Linked DNA regions of Homo sapiens: regions 1 and 2 are each linked to region 3. The links are contacts of gene promoters, found by promoter capture Hi-C in blood cells and fetal thymus (Javierre and others, 2016). All regions are on one chromosome and are shown on one strand. Each heading gives the region's core, a stretch centred on a gene start or on the middle of the fragment in contact. The rest is flanking DNA. Distances are from core to core; before and after follow the strand shown.

Region 1 (2,700 bases), core at 110-2,609, 380 kb before region 3:
CAGGCAGAAATCAGAATGGTGGTTGCATCTGGCGAAGTGAAGCAGAAGACTTACTGGAAAAAGGCATGAGGAAACTTTCTAAGTGATAAAAATGTTTAATTTGATCTGATGATTACAGGAATATAAATATGTACATGAGTATACATATCTGTCAAAATTCAAGAGTGTGTATTTCAGATTTAAAGATTTACTAGCATTGAAATTAAAAATAATAGGGAAAAATTAGATATATACTACCTTCCATTTAAATTAGAAGTTAACATTGTTCCTCAAAAATTAAACAGAATTGGGCCAAGCACGGTGGCTCACACCTGTAATCCCAGAACTTTGGGAGGCTTTGGGGTGGATCATGAAGTCAGGAGCTCGATACCAGTCTGGCCAACATAGTGAAACCCCGTTTCTACTAAAAAGACAAAAAATTAGCCAGGCATGGTGGTGGGCACCTGTAATACCAGCTACACGGGAAGCTGAGGCAAGAGAATCACTTGAACCCGGGAGGCAGAGGTTGCAGTGGAAAAAAAAAAAAATGCTTAGCTCATCCATTTAATCAGTGGAGCGGTGGAGCAAAAGCCAGATTACAATAGACAAATAGACTCAGAGGTGAGGATACCAAGACAAGTAAGATAAACTATTCTTTCAGAAAGCTAATCAATGAAAGTCATTCACTATCACAGTAGAAATAGTGAGATTTGGTAACTACTTATCAAAGACTGTGACAGTGGTTTCATGTAGACTTTAGGGTGAATTAGGTAACAACTAAATTACCTTGTAACTCTATAATTCTGTATACACAAGAACCAAAATTAGCAAAAGGAAAAGATTAATGAAGTGAAGAGCATGTACAGCATCTACAAAATCAAAATCACGTCTGAGAACCAAATATATACACAGTAATTAGTCTGTAGAATAAATTATTATATACAGTACAGGAAATGACATATTTCTAGAATATCTACAAAATTCCTAGTTTCTACAACTTTTAAATTCTTTAAGAATTACTGACATATAAAGACTCTAAGGAAAACAACCCAAATGCCCATCAACAGACAGATAAACAAAATGTGATATATACATACACTAGAATATTATTCAGCCTTAAAAAGGAATGAAATTCTGACACATGCTACAACATGAATGAATCTTGAAAATGCTGAGTGGAATAAGCCAGGCAGAAAAGGGCAAATATTGTATGATTCACCTTACATGAAAAACCTAGAATAGTCAAATTCATAGATACAGAAAATAGAATGGAGATTACCAGGATCTGGGGAGGCAAGGGGATGTGGAGATTTATTGTTTAATGGGTACAGTGTTTCTGTTTGGAATGATGAAACACTTCTAGAAATGGACAGTGGTGATGGCTGCACAACTTTGTAAATGTACTTAATGCCACTGACTTACACACTTAAAAATGGTAAATTTTATATATATTTTACAATAATAAATTATTCTATTAAACAATTAGTCTAAAACCAGATATCAAGCTGAGATCAGGTTTTTTACATAGTGAGTATGTTGTCTCAGGTTGTGGACAAAACTCATCCTCAGCTATGGCCACCCCAAAATGGGTAAAGTTTTCAATGAAGACTCCTTTAAGGAAGAAAATAGACTCAAGCAGTAAATCAGTTCGCTCACCTCAATGATGGGTAAGATCTTCAACTGAAAGCCAGAAGAAAGTCACCTAAGGTTACATCATGGGGCAAAAGGAAGAGGACTTCAGTAGCCTCATGTAGCATATTATTTTCTCAGAACCACCAAGTAGTTCTGATCAATAATTTCATTGCCTGTTCTTGAAAAAGTCCTGATATATTTGGACAAAAATACCAAACAGAAATCTGTTTATCCCTTCCACAGTTGGCAGTCATCACCCTCAAAACTAAAGAGTCAAACTTTGAGAGAATATGGACCTCTCAAGCTGAGGAGGAAAGAGTGAGGGAGAGGCACAACATCCATTCTCAGTCAAAATGCCTCCAATTGCTACTTGTTCAAATAACGTCTCTCAGCTTGCTAATCCAACTTCTGTGTGAATTCTTTATGCACTTACCAACTTTCTGCCTTCTATTTCCAAGTATTACACTACTTAACCAGAGCAGTGGTTCTCAAGTGGGAACAATTTTGCCCCAGAAGGAATAACTGGCAACATCTGGAGACACTTTTGGTTGTTACAATTAAGTGCTACTGTCATCTACCAGGTAGAAGCCAGGGATGTTGTTAACCATCCTACAATATACAGGACAACTCCAACAAAGATTTATCTTGCTCAAAATATCATTCATGCCAAAGCTGAAAAAACCTGAACTAGAGGTATAAAAAAAGTCTAAGGATTTCACAGTAAAATGTGACAGCTTTTTATTCAAAGTACTACTTTTTTAATTTGTTAAAGTCCCGTTAATACTTAAGGATGATAGTTCTTCTCTTTTCTTAATACCTCCCTATATTGGGCTGGATGCAGTGGCTCATGCCTGTAATCCCAGTACTTTGGGGGGCCAAAGCAGGTGGATCACTTGAGGTCAGGAGTTCAAGACCAGCCTGGCCAACGTGGTGAAACCCCATCTGTACTAAAAATAAAAAAATTAGCCAGGCATGGTGGTTCATGCCGATAATCCCAGCTACTTGGGAGGCTGAGACAGCAGAATCACTTGAACCCAGGAGGTGGAGGTTGCAGTGAGCTGAGACTGCACCACTGCACTCCAGCCTGGG
Region 2 (2,700 bases), core at 110-2,609, 280 kb before region 3:
AGGAACGGACTCCACAGTTTCTTTCCTGACTCCTCACAGCCCTGCCCCAGACTTCCCCTTCCCAGAAATCACCTCCAAGGACCCCCATACAGTGCTCCCCACAACCTCCCTCTCAGAACGCCCCCTTCCTAGAGGGTCCCTACCCTGATCCTGGGAGCATATCTGCCCCCTTTCCAGTTGGATCCAGTCCTAGGCACTCCTACTTCCCAGCTGCTCTTCCTCCTGCACACCCACAGTACCCCTTTCTCTCAGAGTGGGCCATGGGTCCAATCAGGCATTTCCCTCGGATTCCTCTCCTTGACTGAACCAGGACTTACACAAAGTTGCCACGGGGCCTTCCGATCCCCTGCGAGTATGTCTTTCCCACCCCCCACTGCCAAAGTCCCCATCCCCGAGCCTCCCTCCGTGTGAGTCACTGCCTCCCCTGGCCCTCCTCTCCATCCCAACAGCAGCCAATCCCCCTCTTCCAGGTCTTCTCCCAGCTGACTGAGGACCTCCAGGTCATTTCTCAATCCCTCTCCTTCCTTTCCTCCTGCCCACCAGTCTTCAAATAAGTGCTGTCCTGTCCTAGGCCAACTCCTCTACCTCCCCATCCTGTCTCCTGCCTCTACAGATGCCTTTCACTCCAGTCCAGTACTAGCTATCTCTCCTGCTCACTGGTTTCACCCCTTACCCAGCCATAAACAAACCCACAGCTCCCCAGTCAGGAAAATGCTTGGTGTTCACCCTGGCCACTCCTTTAGCTGCTAATAATCTCTCCTCTTCTGTTGCAAGCCATCCCCAAAACTCAGCCTCCACCTTCTCTCATCCCCCAGATGGAGTTGCCACTACCACTACCTCCACTCTCAAGTTACATTGTGAAAGACTTGGTATTTGTTTGTTCATTAATTTAGCAACTGCGGGGATGCAGGTTTGTGCCAGATGGCCCCTGCCCTCCAAGAGGCACAGGCAAAAAAAAAAAAAAAAAAAAAAAAAAAAAAAAAAAAACAGTTCCAGGACAAGTATGCACATGGTTCTGAGAAGGGGAGCCCAAGCTTGGGCTTGCAAAGAAGCCTCCCCAGAGATGGCAAGGTCAGAAGCAAGGCCAGAAGGGCGAGCCACAGTGAGCCCAGATGATGATGACAGGGAGGCAACCACAGTTTGCCAAAAGCATTGGGCTGATTTCGTTTCGCTCTGAGAATGAATTGGTATCTGCTATCTTTGACCATGGGTGACTGACTGCAGATCATGCCTTTTTCATTCATGTTAATTCATTCCTTACCTTTTTTTTTTTTTTTTTTTTTTGAGACATGTCACCCAGGCTGGAGTGCAATGGCACTAACTAGGCTCACTGCAACCTCTGCCTCCCAGGCTCAAGCCATCCTTCCACCTCAGCCTCCCCAGTAGCTGGGACCACAGGTGTGTGCCACCACACCTGGCTAGTTTTTTTGGTAAAATTAGCCCCAGTACAGACGGGGTTTCTCCATGTTGCCCAGGCTGGTCTCGAATTCGTGAGCTCAAAGCAATCTGCCTGCCTCAGCCTCCCAAACTGCTGGGATTACAGGCATGAGCCACTGTGCCCAGCCTGGAAAAAAAATCCACTTCTAATCTAGCAAATTTTGTGTTCTTGTTTACTATTTTAGCATTAATAACACCAAGTGACTAACATTCTCCTCATGAGCGCTATGCTAGGAATAAAAGCTTGCCACGGTGGAATTATCTAAACTAGAAGAAATCAATACCATGGATCCCAACAAAAATCAACAAAAGGGACCACATGTTCATTTTATCTGATATATTTCTGGAAAAAAATGTTTGCCATAGCAAAATGGAGACGGGGAGCCAAGCAGCAAAATACATCCGTAGTGAGGTACAGAAAACAGTATCCACTAGAAATCTTTTCAGGAAGGGTGCCATTTTGGGTTGGAGAAACTCCTTGAAAGTTAATTTGGGGGAGAAGGAGAGTCCTTGAGGGACCAGGGTAAGGTCAGAACGTTTCCTGGGAGAAAGGGGGAACATTTCTCTGGCTAATAAGGGCACAGTGCCGGACAGGGTGAAGAAGAAAAAGTCAGTCAAGAGTGGTACATTTCAGAGCATGAAAGGCCTCACACTGCATAAAATAGACTACACCTTAAGACTTCCAATTTTCAGTAAGACTCTTAGGCCCATATAAAATTCAGGAGCCTGTGGATTTTTTGGTGTGGAAACCACTGAAGAGGCAGATTGTACATCTAAATTGCAAGGGCGAGACTTAAGTATGAATTGGGAATTTAGAGTGTAGCAAATTAGTCAGACATTAGATAATAAGTAAGCAAAGTTTATGAACAATTCACCAAGAAATACAAATGGCTCTTTAACATATGAAAATATAACTGTGCAAGGAAAAAAAACATGCAAATTAGTTTCCAAGAGATACTTTCCATTTCTTGCATTGGCAAAGAACAAAAATTTCACTGACATAATTGTGAGGACAAATGCATTCACTAGTGGGAATTCATAAAACTTCCATTGAGAGCAGTTTGGCAATAACTACCAAAATTAAAAATGCACATAATCTTTAACTGAATTATTTCAATTCTAGTAATTTATTCTATAGGCATAGATGTGGGAAATGACTTTACATACAAAGGTATTCAATGCAGCATTATTTGTAATAACCAATGCCTAAAACCAACCTAGATAGAGGTTAAATAAATTATAAGTCCATATTATATGGCGCAT
Region 3 (2,913 bases), core at 129-2,628:
TGTTCTAGACAAGCCTGGGCAGAATGGTGAAACCACCATCTCTACAAAAAAAAAAAAAGAAAAAAAATTATCCAGGCATGGTAGCGTGCACCTGTCATCCCAGCTACTTGGGAGGCTTAGGTGGGAGGATCGCTTGAACCCAGGAGGTTGAGGCTGCAGTGATCTTAGATCGCACCACTGCACTACAGCCTGGGTGACAGAATGATAACCTATCAAAAAAAAAAAAAGGAAATCTCTATTAAAATAATTAGCAATTTTACTGAAAGAGGCATGAAAAATATATTATGGAATAAATATATAATTTATGAAGTATGTGTCTTTGTCCAAACATTGTATTACTACTTTGTGCAAACATCACTGATCCATCAAGAGAATACCTAGACATGTGCAGGAGTAATAAAATTCCATCAGCTCTGATATTTTGCCAACTTTCAGTCATATAGAAAGCGTAGCTGTACATATGTCTTTCATTTTCGTAATTCTGAACCTGTATTTGTGAAAATAAGAGGGGAACATATTTAACAAATTGTAATTTGATTTGTATCTTTTAAATGTTTAGATGCACAGTATGTCGATTTCCATTTCTTATTTTGCGCTGGGCCCAACAAATGTTGGGGTGGGCCTGGCCCTAACATCCTCGACCCTCAGAACCTCAGCTTCCTTTTCCGGAAAAAGAGAACACTCCTGAGTTCACAGAACTGGGATGAACTGGGCACCTGGTGCATAATGGGTTCTGAGTAAATACGGCTAAGTTCCCTCACTCTCCTAAGGAGGAATCCGTGTTCAAGGAGTGTTTAAGGGGTTTTTATTTTATTCTTCCTTTCTTTTTAAGGCTGCAAGGGAGACGAATGTGTCTGAGGCTCAGGGGTAAGAAAGTGGTTAAAGACACCGAAGACAGAGATGTGTGATGGGGCGGGGTGGGATTGGCTCCGAGGGACTGGCTCGATAGTGGGAATAGAGAAGAGGAATCCCCATCCACCCCCGCAGGAAACGCACCAGCGTTTGGAGGTGTGTGTGCCTGCGTGTGCCTGCGTTTGCCTGTGTGTGCCTGTGTGTGCGGTGGGGATTAGCCCCGACTCCGGCAGACACCATCACGCATGACGAAGCTGCTTCCCCTCACGCGGCCCAAGGCGCACACGCGCGATCCACGGCCACGCCCGCACACACTCGACACACACAGGGCATTCGAGGGTCCGGTTGCCATGGCGAGCAGGAGCGCGTGAGCCCAGCCGCCCCCCCCGCCCCCGGCGAGCCCAGTCAACTCCCACTCTGATTGGCGGCTGCTTCCTCATTATGCAAATCATTTGCGTAGACTCGGCGGCCAGCTGCCTGACGTCACCAAGCACGGGGGCTGGGGCTCGGGGCTCGGCTCTGGGAGAGCTCGGGCGGGAGCCCAGAGAGAGCCGCACGGGGACCTCAAGCCAGACCCCAGCGTTCAGCCGCCACCTCGGCCCGGGCCCGCCCCGCCCCGGCCCCGCCCCTTTCCTGCCCGCCCCACCCCCTCTACGCCCCTCCACCCGGACCCCGCCCCCTGGGCAGCCCCCCGCCCTCTCCGCCCGGGCTCCGCCCCCTCCCCCTGGCCCTCGCCACCGGTCCAGGGAGGGGACGGCGGGACAGGCGGGACCAGTGGGACCGGCGGGAGGGCTGACAGGGCGGGGACATGGCCGCGGCGCCGGGAGGGTCAGCGCAGCCCGCTGGCCCCGGCCCGCGCCTGGGTTTCAGCACCGCGGACAGCGGCGTCGGCATGAGCGGGCTAAACCCCGGTCCCGCCGTACCCATGAAGGACCACGACGCCATCAAGCTCTTCGTGGGGCAGATCCCGCGGGGCTTGGACGAGCAGGACCTCAAGCCGCTGTTCGAGGAGTTCGGCCGCATCTACGAGCTGACGGTGCTGAAGGACCGGCTCACCGGCCTCCACAAAGGTGCGCGGGGTCAGCCCAGCCCAGCCCAGCCCCAATCCGATTAGAGTGTGGCCCGACCCCAGCCCAGCCCCAGCCCTAGCCCTGCCGAGAGCCAGTCCAACACCAGTCCAATATCAGCCCCACCTCAGCCCAGCCCCCTTCCCAGATCACAGAATTTTCTCTCTGACATCCTCCCTCTGATTATCACTGTGGTCCCCTAACATGTTCTCCACTCTAACCTCCAAATTCCTGGCCTCCACCTCTCACATCCCAGCAGTCCCTGCCTTTCAATTGGACCTTTCCACCACCTCTCCCATCAGACCTAAAATTCTGGAATTTGAAAACTTATTCCACCTTCTAGATCTCGAATACCCTCAATTTCCCAAACCCTGAGCCCAAACACTCCTGAATCCTCCATCTGGTGGCACCTCACTCAGGCCTAACCACCCACATGCATATCTTGGACTTGCACCCCTCCTCTGGCCTCCTAGTCCGGCCATCCCCCTCAAGAGCCTTCTTTTGACTCTCAGACTGCCAACCTAAAACACCGCAGACCCAAACCCTCCCCTTCTTCAGAACCCAGACCTGTCTAACACAAAATCCAATTCAATTCCCAGGAGGCTCTCAGTTCCAGACACCCCCTCATGTTCAACAACAGCCCCAATCTCTCCTGCCCTTCGCCAGAATCCCAATGCACTCTACCTCTTTTGATTTCAGTTCAGAACCCTGACCTCAGCTGGGAACTCCTGCCACCCTGTGTCCCTTTCTTCTTGGATTTCTCTCAGCTAAATCCACACTTCTTTCCTTCTCTAATCCCCTCACTCCTGTGCCTCTTCTTTGCTCCTCCCCAGTCCTCTTTATGGCCTCTTTCTTTCCCTCCCCTCACAGGCTGGTCCCAGTCCAGGCCCATTCTCAGGGTGAGTCAGGCTGAAGAGACAGAAGGAGATCTTCTCCCTGCCCTTTCTAGAGAGATACACGGTCCTGTTCGGCCACACCCCTTTCTTCCTGTAGA

The links. Contacts are between HindIII fragments. The CHiCAGO score rates a contact against its expected background, and 5 or more counts as called.
Region 1: a fragment that was not itself captured here is called in contact with the fragment with the promoter of CELF6 in region 3 in 1 of 17 cell types (neutrophils); the score reaches 7.4 in neutrophils.
Region 2: a contact is called between a fragment that was not itself captured here and the fragment with the promoter of CELF6 in region 3, in 3 of 17 cell types (M1 macrophages, M0 macrophages and monocytes). The highest score is 5.8, in M1 macrophages.

Annotation. Positions count from the first base shown.
Region 1 is chr15:72,696,973-72,699,672 of GRCh38, reverse strand. All of the region lies in intron 2 of BBS4 (Bardet-Biedl syndrome 4), which reads right to left. Among named protein-coding and RNA genes, the nearest start is that of BBS4, 12 kb to the right of the region's middle. The HindIII fragment of the contact is 7,034 bases long and covers 1-2,700 here.
Region 2 is chr15:72,602,047-72,604,746 of GRCh38, reverse strand. ARIH1 (ariadne RBR E3 ubiquitin protein ligase 1) reads right to left here. Exons shown (of 14, transcript NM_005744.5): 14 at 1,760-2,700. It also overlaps the pseudogene LOC100420930. Among named protein-coding and RNA genes, the nearest start is that of MIR630, 16 kb to the right of the region's middle. The HindIII fragment of the contact is 646 bases long and covers 1,037-1,682 here.
Region 3 is chr15:72,318,622-72,321,534 of GRCh38, reverse strand. It overlaps CELF6 (CUGBP Elav-like family member 6), which reads left to right and starts at 1,378. Exons shown (of 13, transcript NM_052840.5): 1 at 1,378-1,922. The coding sequence starts at 1,661. RefSeq lists silencers at 1,242-1,291, 1,352-1,691. The HindIII fragment of the contact is 9,541 bases long and covers 1-2,913 here.